Linked DNA regions of Homo sapiens: region 2 is linked to region 1. The links are contacts of gene promoters, found by promoter capture Hi-C in blood cells and fetal thymus (Javierre and others, 2016). All regions are on one chromosome and are shown on one strand. Each heading gives the region's core, a stretch centred on a gene start or on the middle of the fragment in contact. The rest is flanking DNA. Distances are from core to core; before and after follow the strand shown.

The links. Contacts are between HindIII fragments. The CHiCAGO score rates a contact against its expected background, and 5 or more counts as called.
Region 2: a fragment that was not itself captured here is called in contact with the fragment with the promoter of SYBU in region 1 in 1 of 17 cell types (total B cells); the score reaches 6.1 in total B cells.

Annotation. Positions count from the first base shown.
Region 1 is chr8:109,640,762-109,646,106 of GRCh38, forward strand. SYBU (syntabulin) reads right to left here and starts at 4,061. Exons shown (of 7, transcript NM_001099754.2): 1 at 3,875-4,061; 2 at 1,967-2,171. The coding sequence starts at 3,898. SYBU-AS1 (SYBU antisense RNA 1) reads left to right here and starts at 3,368. Exons shown (of 2, transcript NR_161375.1): 1 at 3,368-3,461; 2 at 4,357-5,345. RefSeq lists a silencer at 3,826-4,315 and enhancers at 3,828-4,764, 4,426-4,745. The HindIII fragment of the contact is 4,274 bases long and covers 2,504-5,345 here.
Region 2 is chr8:108,241,432-108,246,841 of GRCh38, forward strand. EIF3E (eukaryotic translation initiation factor 3 subunit E) reads right to left here. Exons shown (of 13, transcript NM_001568.3): 2 at 368-482. Among named protein-coding and RNA genes, the nearest start is that of EIF3E, 4.6 kb to the right of the region's middle. The HindIII fragment of the contact is 1,352 bases long and covers 3,042-4,393 here.

The sequences.
Region 1 (5,345 bases), core at 2,811-5,310:
TTTTTCAGAATCAAGCAGACAATTTGATTAGCAAATTGTTAGCAAAAAATTAGTTAGCAAAAAAAAAAAAAAAAAAAGTAGGCAGTGCAGAATTTCCAACATACAACTTATGCAGAGGACAGAATAACTTTGTGGAAGTATGTAATAAATCCAAAGCTGCATTTATAAAATCCTTGAAAAATGTAGCTGTGAGCCCTAAATGCAGTGGAATGTTAGGTCCTGCTAAATTAGAGCATTAATCATAGCATCCTGATTCATGTGTTTCTTCTCATACATGTGTTAATCTTCAAGTTCCATGTTCCCTAAATAAGTTCTAAAACATTATCCACTGTGAAACATTCTTCACTAGTCATAAGACAGTCACTCCTTTAAATTTTACCCAAATTCCTAATACTTCTCAAGTAACTCCTTCTAAGTCATGTGCTTCAATGGGAATAAAAAGCTCTGTCAAATGATAATGGTGGCACCTTCAGGAACTATCAAGAGATTTGTGCCCTTACCAAACATGCTCACAACTTTAAGGAAACTTTCTTAATCACGTGCCCAAACAGACATCCATAGTTCCTTGTATTAAGAACCATCATTTATTAAGCACTTCTGTAAGCCAGGTACCGTGTAAGGTGAACATTTAGGTACTGGTCTCATTCAACTTCACAGCCACTCTACAAGGCAAGTATTATAATCTCATTTTATGGATGTAACAACTAAGGCTTAAGGAGGTTAAGCAACTTGCTGAAGGTCACACAGTATGTAAGTGGTGAAAGGGCCAGGGATTCCAGCCCTTCAGGCTTGACAGATCACAAAGCCTGGGCTCTTCCCTACTAAACCATAAGGCCAGGCCAGCCTTAGGCTATAACTCTCCTTGATCTTGACCTCATTTATTAGGAATTGCTTTATCTTTGGGGAATTTTATAATTAGAGGTACACAGGCTTCTAGAAGTTGCTAGTATAAAATTCAATCCAATATTTTTTCTACATTTAACAAAGGAATGCATCTTTAAAAACAGTCATAGAATGGCAGTAATTAAAAGATCAGGAATGGACAGATGCTGGAGAGGATGTGGAGAAATAGGAACGTTTTTACACTGTTGGTGGGAGTGTAAATTAGTTCAACCATTGTGGAAGACAGTGTGGCGATTCCTCAAGGATCTAGAACCAGAAATACCATTTGACCTAGCAATCCCATTACTGGGTATGTATCCAAAGAATTATAAATCATTCCACTATAAAGACACATGGACACGTATGTTTATTGCAGCACTGTTCACAATAGCAAAGACTTGGAACCAACCCAAATGCCCATCAATGATAGACTGGATAAAGAAAATGTGGCACATATACACCAAGGAATACTATGCAGCCACAGAAAAGGATGAATTCATGTCCTTTGCAGGGACATGGATGAAGCTGGAAACCATCATTCTCAGCAAACTAAACAGAGGAACAGAAAACCAAATACCGCATGTTCTCACTCATAAGTGGAAGTTGAACACATGGACACAGGGAGGGGAACATCACATACCAGGGCCTGTCAGGGGGTGGGGGCTAGGAGAGGGATAGCATTAGGAGAAATACCTAATGTAGATGATGGGTTGATGGGTGCAGCAAACCACCATGGCATGTGTATACTTATGTAACAAACCTGCATGTTCTGCACGTGTATCCCAGAAATTAAAGTATAATAAAACAAAGGAAAAAAGTCATAGAAACAAGAAGTTAGATTTTACATTCGAAATTATAAGCTAGAATAACATATGAAAATTCAGGTGTGAGATTCCAATAAACTGAACTATATGAAACTGCTGTGTTTGTAGGTCACAACAGCCAGAAATGTACCACCTTCTACAATTCATCCTAATAGTAGAAGTGTAGTTCTAGGCTATAAGGGACCCAGTATGGGCCCATTCACAATGCACCTGCAGTGCACACGCTTCACGCCTCTGGTGGCCTCCCGAGGGTACTGTACCTGAGCAGAAGCTGTTGCTGCTAACGGTCCTCGCTGAGCGCCCAGAGCTGCTGGGGTTGAACTCTCTGCTCTCTTCCTCAGAGAAAGGAGACTCAGAGGCTGGGGACACTTTGTGCTGTTGTTGGGGCATATGGGGCCGAAGAATCAACCGGGGAATTCGGCTTCGAGAAATCTCCTTGTCATGATGCTGCACTCTGTGCTCCTTCTCAAAATTGGACATCAAAAAAGAAAACAAAAGGAAACGCGTTTCCCTCTCTTAACTCCTGTCGGTTCCTTCAAGGATCAATTTCTAAGAAATCACATTTCTGAGTATTGAGTCTTCACAGAGTAGTCCTTCTTATCTCAGTTGCTGAAATGAGCTTCAAAACTCTTCCAATGAGTTAACCTTTCTAATCTACTGAATAGCACATGTCTGTGTGGCACACACACACACACACACACACACATATACACACCTCCACTCACTAGCTGGAAGGCCATCCTACTTCCCTATGCTGGTCCTGACTCACCTTCCCACCCTGACTTCTATCACATTCAAGCTTCTGCCTCCCAAAGGCTCTTTATTAACACCACACTCTGGCTTACTTGATAGCCTTCAGACTTCCATTTTGCTTTCCCTAAATTAGCTGTGACAGTCTGACTTGTTTTCTTGTCTCCTCACAAAGTTGAACCCTATACCTGGAACAGTTATTTCCTGATAGCTCACACACAATTATCTTTAAAATCCCTCCTCTTCTGGACAGGATCTTAATTATTCGTTAATATCCTGGTACACAAGGCTTGTTGCCAACAGAAAAGCAAACACAAATCCGATACTCGGGAAGATGGCTCCACCTTTTACATCATCTTTAATTTTTGTTTTCCTTACAGGACATCCATAAGAAGAGATTTTTCTTTCTCCTTAAAAACGCAGCATGAAGTACCCTGCCATTTCGTGGTTTTAAAAATGCGTAACAGTAATATTTTCACAATGTTTTCCAACTTATAAAGTGCTTTTCCAACCATTTTCTCATTTGATCTTTACACACCAGACTGTACATAGAGAGCACACCAATGAATGTCCCTATTTTCAGATGAGGAAACAGGCTAAATGGGGTAGAGATGCTTAGGCAATTCTGCACACCATGCCAGAAGTAGAACGAAATTCAAATCCAGTGCTTTGCAGGGTCACCACCACCCTGCCTTATGAAAATGGATTCCTAGGAGGAGCGTTTTGCAAAAATTCCACTGCTTCCTCCAACCTCTGCCACTGAAAGGGACTCTTTGGCTTAGGTAACAAACACCCTTTCGAAACATGACCTACTGTTCCTTCCACCGGCTTACCAGGAAGGGTCACGGCCAAAATAAACACCTCTGGGAGGCCGGCACATGGCATAAATTGAAGGGTAAACCTCAGCAATGGGGAACTTCGGAGGGCCCTCAGGCATCCACTCTACCCGGGGGCCGCCAGCCGCACGCAGCCTCGGATTCGCCCTGCACATCTGCCGCCCAGCAGGTACCATGCGCCAGCCACTCCGCCGGGCACACCGCAGACCCTGAGCTAAGGCAGGGTCACTGACACGCGGGAGTCCTCTTTTCCCAGTCGCGGATGCATCAAATTCCTTTCATTCACATCACACACACAGGATATCAACTGAAAGCTACACCCCACAGTCCCAGTTTCAGGAGGTGGGATTAACCCTCCAATCATGTCATTCTCCAAAATCTATTCCTCCAGTACCACCTCCCCATCTCCTGGATCTCAACTCCTAAGCAATGCCTCCTGCCTTCTCCAGACCCCACCACCACCTCCTTCCACCTTTCCCCAGACTCTAAATGTCACCCCTCCAGCTCTCATCCCGCCGCTTCTCGCCCCGCAGTGCCCGCCTTCCCCGCCCTCCAGTGCCCGCACTGCCCCGCGCTCCTTACCTTGCTCTCGCGGAGGGGCCCCATCGCGCCGCTGCCCGCCGGCTCCTCGCGCCGCCGCTGCCGCCGTCCAGGAGGAGGCACCTGCGAGCACGGAGCGAGGAGACTGCGCTGAGCCGGCGCGGGCTGCGGGCGGCGGCTCTTGGTGAGGCTCCAACGCGCCGCCGCCGCCACTGCCGCCGATTGCTCTGGGCTCCGAGGGCACGCCCGACCCCGCCCCGGCCGGACACGTGGTGCCGCACTCGCTAGAGGCAGCTCCTGGGGCGCCTCCCACGCCCTCCCTCACCTGCGGCCTTCGGGGCAACTCGACCGCGCCTGGGCGCGCCCCACCCGCCCGATTTCCCCACGGCACTCCGCGCCCCCCCAGCCAGAGCCGGTGTCCCTCCCTCTCCAAGGAGCTCGGCCCGGTGTAGGCAGGCTGCGGCTAGCGGCATCTCCAGCCCAGGGGTGACCCCACCCTCTTTTTTTTTTGCACTTGATCTCAGGTTTGAAGTGGGTGGCGTTGGATGGAGTGACTGAGAAAAGCTGCGACATCACAGAGAGACAAAATAGAGAAAGTTTTCCCCTGGCCACCCCTCCTTGGCCTCCAGGTCTTAAGTCAGCCTACAGCTCCCCACAACTGCCTCGCCCGAGAGCTGCAGAGATCCCTCTCGTACCGGAGCCCAGCCAAGCCAGTGCGTCAGGACCGACACAGCCTCTGGGTTCCGGGATCTGAAAGGCTGCGATGGATTCTACTTGGAAGGGGTTGCATCAGAAAGGCCTTCAGTGGTCAGCGCAGCTCCCTCCGGCTTGGAGAAGCCAGGCTGCTATGTAGCCAGAGAACAGTCTTTTCCCCAGCGCTGCCCTGCAGCTGCCCGGCTCCAGGAAGTAGCTCCAGCACACTGCTAAGGGAAGAGCACTGGAATTGAACTCAGAAAAACGAGTTCAAGCCAGCACTCCAATCGGTCCCTTCAGCCTGAGTGCCTTTATGCCTAAAGTTTTTGTTGTTGTTTCGTTTTTTGTTTTTTTTTTTTTCCGTTGCTGTTGAAACGGCATCTCGTTCTGTGGCCCAGGCTGTAGTACAGTGGCGCGATCAGGGCTCACTGCAACCTCTAACTCCTGGGATCAAGGGATCATCCCGTCCAGGCCTCTCAAAGTGCTCGAATTACATGCGGATGCCATTGCATGCGTGGCCTACGCCTACGGTTCTTGACCCTTCTGAACTTCAAATTTACCCTTGTTAAATTGAGGGATAATAATAGTGATACCTACCTCTAGGATAGCTGTGAGGGTTAGGTGAGGAAAACAAACAGCTCTATCCAGCTGATTGAACAGAACTTTCCAAAGGGCAGCTAAGTCAGGTCCAGATGATCCAGTCAATATTTGTTGATGCCTTTTACATGACAGGCAGAAAAAGCATTTGTGATGCACACAAATTTGTTTAAGAAAGCTCGAAAATCTGTCCAACTGGGGACTTAGAATAGGGTACATCAGC
Region 2 (5,410 bases), core at 2,468-4,967, 1.4 Mb before region 1:
AAAATTAAAAAAAAAAACACAAAACTCTAAGGCACACAATGCACTAACTGAAAAAGTTAGCAACCCAAGAACTGCAACATTCTCAGATAATTCTAAGGAATGTGAATCATAAGCACAACTTTGATGATACATACTATGAAATGAAGGCATCTGATGACCATATTTTAAAGTAGTTCCACATCTTTCACAGGGAGAAAACAATATATTTCGGAAGATATGAAACCTTTATATAACCTCTCACCCAAAGAACATTAACATTCAAATCATATTTAAGCCTTTTGGCTAAAGCTGTCTTATAAATCATAAAACTTTAATACACACATCCTCAAGTCACAAGACAAGTTTCAGTTCTAATGACAAAACTTACCATGAGGAATATCATCAGAATAAAGGTTTTTGTATACATCCATAGCAAAGTCTACCATGTTGGTATCACTAAGAAGGTCCAATTTACCTTGTAATAATTCCTTTTCATTATATATCTGCAAAAGAAGATAACTTTCTAATGAATATATTTAAGTTCCCCAAATAAACTGATTAATACTAAAACTAATTTACCTGGAAATATATTTCAAGAAATACTTTATAAAATACGATAAACCATTAACATTCCCCTCTTGTAATAATGGCAAGCAATATGGCAAGCAACCAACCTATAGACGTAAAAGTATTTTACTTACCTAAAAATTTTAAAATGAAGAGAATTACTGTAGACATTCCCACCTACTTCTGATTTACATGACCTTATTTTTTATGTGTCCCTACAAACCATCTCTTACCCTTTCTAGGCAAGGCTGTGTATAAATAAAACCCACGCCATCTTTCCTGTAAAGCACATATAGCTGTCACTTCTCCACATCCAGGTAATCAGTAATAAACTCCTATATGCTTCTCCATCCACATTGCTGAAACAACCTGCACCAAGTTTTTAAGTCAACCATGTCAGATCAGGCTTTTGCTTTGCAAAGGATCCAAAAAAGCATAATTTAACCTATAGTACAGGGAGCAAATAGATACATATACACAAACTCACAACAACATGAAGTGTACTGAGTAATATGTAAAGATTCTACAAAATATTCACGGACAGAAATGCTTCAGCAAAAGAAAAGATTTCTGTACTGAACTTAATTTTGCAAGGAAAGAAAAATCCAAGAAAATGCCACAATATTTCACTGCCCACAAAAAATAAAGATGAAGGTGGTCAAAGGGTATTTAGCCATGAGAGCAAAATCGAACCTTCCAAATTACATGCAGAACTCCTATAAATGAGTAAGACAAGACAGACCTTGCAATTGAAATGGCTAAAAGATAGGCACTTCGCAAAAGAAGACAACCAAATGGCCAACAGACACATGAAAAGGTTCTCAACGTCATTAATCATAAGGAAATGCATACTAAAAATTACAATAAAAACCTAAAAAATCCTGACAATACCAGTGTTGGTGTGGATGTAGACTAACTGGAACCTATTCTCTTCTGGCAGGAATACAACTACTTTGTAAGATTTTTATCTCCCAAAGCCAAACATACTTTTTGATCCAGCAATTGTTTCGAGGCATCCAAAACAAATGGGTGCATATAGTCAAAGTGCACTTCCAAAAATGTACACAGGAGCACTATTTGTAATAGCCAAGTCTATCAATGTTAAAATGAGAAAACAAACCACAGCATACTCATAATAGATTAACATTCGGCACTGAAAAATCAATGAACTACTACTGCTATCCTAAAAACATGATGACTCACAAACAATGCTGAGTGAAAGATGTCATACAAAGCAGTACATGGTGGTAAATGCTTAACTCCACCTATATAAAAATCAAAAACAGGCAAAATGAATCATCAGACTACAGCTTACCTTTAGGGGGTGTGAGTAGTGACTAACAGGGGTCAAGATGAAGGTTTAAGGATGTCGCCAGGCGCAGTGGCTCACGCCTGTAATCCCAGCACTTTGGGAGGCCGAGGCAGGCGGATCACGAGGTCAGGAGATCGAGACCATCCTGGCTAACACGGTGAAACCCTGTCTCTACTAAAAATACAAAAAATTAGCCGGGCGTGGTGGTGGGCGCCTGTAGTCCCAGCTACTCGGGAGGCTGAGGCAGGAGAATGACGTGAACCCAGGAGGTGGAACTTGCAGTGAGCCGAGATTGCGCCACTGCACTCCAGCCTGGGCCACAGAGCAAGACTCTGTCTCAAAAAAAAAGAAAAAAAAAAAAAAAAAAAAAAGGATGTCTGTAATGTTTTATTTATTAATCTGAGTGGTGGTCACATAAATGTATTCGCTATTCATTTTGAAAAAAATATGTATCATTGACCAGTACATTTATATTTGTGTACTTGTATGAATGAACGTCATATCTGATAAAAAATTTACCTAAAAAACCTTAACTTCTCATCACTTTGCCCTATAGAAACACTAATCTTAAATAAAAACATTCTTTTCCAAGCACGCTACCTCTCCCCACTCCACTAGTAACTTTTAATTTGCCACGTCTCTCTCCACAATAGATTCAATAGCCTTGCTCCTCTACCATCAGGTGTTACTGTCCTGTTCTCAAATCTACATATGCCTCTCAATTCTGCCTCATAAGCAGAAAGCAAATACTTCAGACTTTGTATCAAGAAGCAACAATTGAAAATACTATATAAGTACTCACATGAAAAACGAGAATCAAATTTCCACAATTTTTTAAAAATTTTGAAACAGAAATAATAACAGTAAAAGTTTTTGTAATACAGGTCTATTAATAAGAATAGAATGCTTTTTCAAGAGAAATTATTTCACTTAATTGGGGTATAAAGTTAATATTCTATAATTGCTAATGTTTGCAAATGTTCCTCTGTTACAAACTATTCTTAGCCCCAAAACCACACAAAAACAGGCTGCTATCTGATTCCCAGGCTATAGTCTGCTGATCCGTCGTCTATCAACCTCTTGAAAACATATTACTTTTTAACAGATTAAGAATCTTTTTTTGCTGTCTCTTCCTCTGCTGTCATTCAACACAAATATAATGCCATACTGATGACTCTTTAAAAGCTTGAGCCCTAAAATTCCTTTATTCCTCAAATTATGACAATTTTCATCATGTATCTCATCTCCAAGAATTCCAACTTAAAACTGATAACCCCTCATCTCCAAGAATTCCAACTTAAAACTGATAACCCCTTCCACCATTACCATTAAAATCTTCATCATCTCAGACTTTCTGCCCTTTCTAATTTTTGTAATACCCTTTTTGATGTCACTTTCTGCCTTAGTTTGGATATCATTTTTAGCTATTTCAAAGATTTTCTCTTCAGTTCTATCATTGATTCTTTCAAACTAATTTCTCCAACTATATACAATTCAGTGTCAATCACTAACTCTGGAAAAAAAGTCACCTATTCTCTAGGTTCTGGCTAAGGATGACTACAAAATGTTTCAAAATTAGGGAATAATGTTATTCGATCACATCTGTGCTTCTCTAAATGGCATTTACATACAAGCCTACCCCTAAATATGTCTATACTACTCCCATAGCCTTCTACCGCTCCTCGCCCTGAGAATGACCCCATTATTAGCTCTAAGGTATGATTTCCAATCTCAGTTGGGCCCTCCACACTTAACCAATCCTTGTACTTTCCTTTGATCAGTTTCTTAGTAACCATTTCCAGTCCTTACCTTACTCCTCAAAACCCTCACTGCCCCCCCCTCCCATCCCATACCAATACAGAATGGGCTAGTCTTCCAAAATAAAAAACATTTAGAGCCAAGGGTGGTGGCTCATGTCTGTAATCCCAGCACTTTGCGAGGCCAAGGTGGCAGATCACTTGAGTTCAGGAGTTTGAGACCAGCCTGGGTAACATGGTGAAACCCCATCTCTACAAAAAATACAAAAAAAATCAGCCGGACATGGTGGCGCACACCTGTAGTCCCAGCTACTTCTGGGGCTGAGGTGGGAGAATTGCTTGAGCCCAGAAAGTCAGGGCTGTAATGAGCTAAGATTGTGCCACTGCACTCCAGCTTAGGTGACAAAGCGAGACCCTGTCTCAAAACACAAAACATTAAGGAGTACTCACTCTGTCCCAGAAGAGCGTAGTGTTTTATATGCATTATCTCATGTAATTTTTCTAACCCGATGAGATTGGTGGTAGTATTAACATTTTATTCATGAGAAAAGGTTAAGAGGGTAAAAGAATCTGCTCTGACTGCACAGAGGTATTAAATGACCGAGTCATGAAAGGTCCAATTCAGAGCCCAGGGTCCTAAATATTTCACTATCTGGCCTTCTGCTTCACATGAAAATAAAGAAGAGTGAGAAACAAGTATGTATTCATTCAATCATTTATTAAACAATCATAAAAAGCCTTTATGCCAGACTCATATTATGTGCTGAGAGCACAAGGAAGCTTCTGCTCTCATGAAGCTTATATTCTCCAATGTACTACAAATATATGAAACTGTTTTTCTCTTGGTGCAATGTAATAGTCTCCCCTTATCCATGAGCTAAATGTTCCAAGACCCCCCAGCGGCTGCTGCCTGAAACTGCAGATAGCCCCAATCCTATATTTACTGTTTTTTTCCTATACATGCATACCTATGATAAAGTTTAATTTATAAACTGGGAACAAGAGATGAACAATAACAAAATAGAACAATTAAGTTAGCATATACAGTGTGGATACATTGGACAAAAGGATGATTCATGTCCCAGTTTTAAGCAAGAGAGCGAGACAGATTTCATCCTACTACCCAGAAGGGCGAACAATTTAAAACTTACGAATTGCTAATTTCTGGAATTTTCCATTTAATATTTTTGGACCATGAGTAACTGGAACTGCAGAAATTGAAACTGCTAAGGGGGTGTGGGGGGGGGGGGCTGCTGTATCCTCACATAGCAGGATCACTGACTCTATTCTAACCATTTTGCCTTCAAGACTCAAAGCCTCACCTCCTCAAAGTCCTCTTTGCTCACTGAAGATAACAAAATCTCAATTTTGATAGCACTCTACCAGTACCTACCTCTTCGACATTTATTTTTACCTTATATCAAAAACATTCAACTCTAAAGGATAGGTAAGTTGTTTAGTGGTGAGATGTCTGGGTTTTATCTTGGATTTCTCAGTTATATGGCCCTATACAATTAACCCTTGGACGACAAGGGTTTGAACCACACAGGTCCACGTATACACAACTTTTTTTCAATAAAAGTTACACCAAGTGTGCCTGCCTTTCCTGACTTCCCATCCACTTCCTCTACTTCTTCCACCTCTGCTACCCCTGAAACAGCAAGACCAACCCCTCCTTTTACTCCTCCTCCTCAGCCTACTCAATATGAAGACAATGAAGACCTTCATGATGATGTACTTCCACTTACTAAAAAGTAAATGTATTTTCTCTTCCTTATAATTTAAGACCATTTTA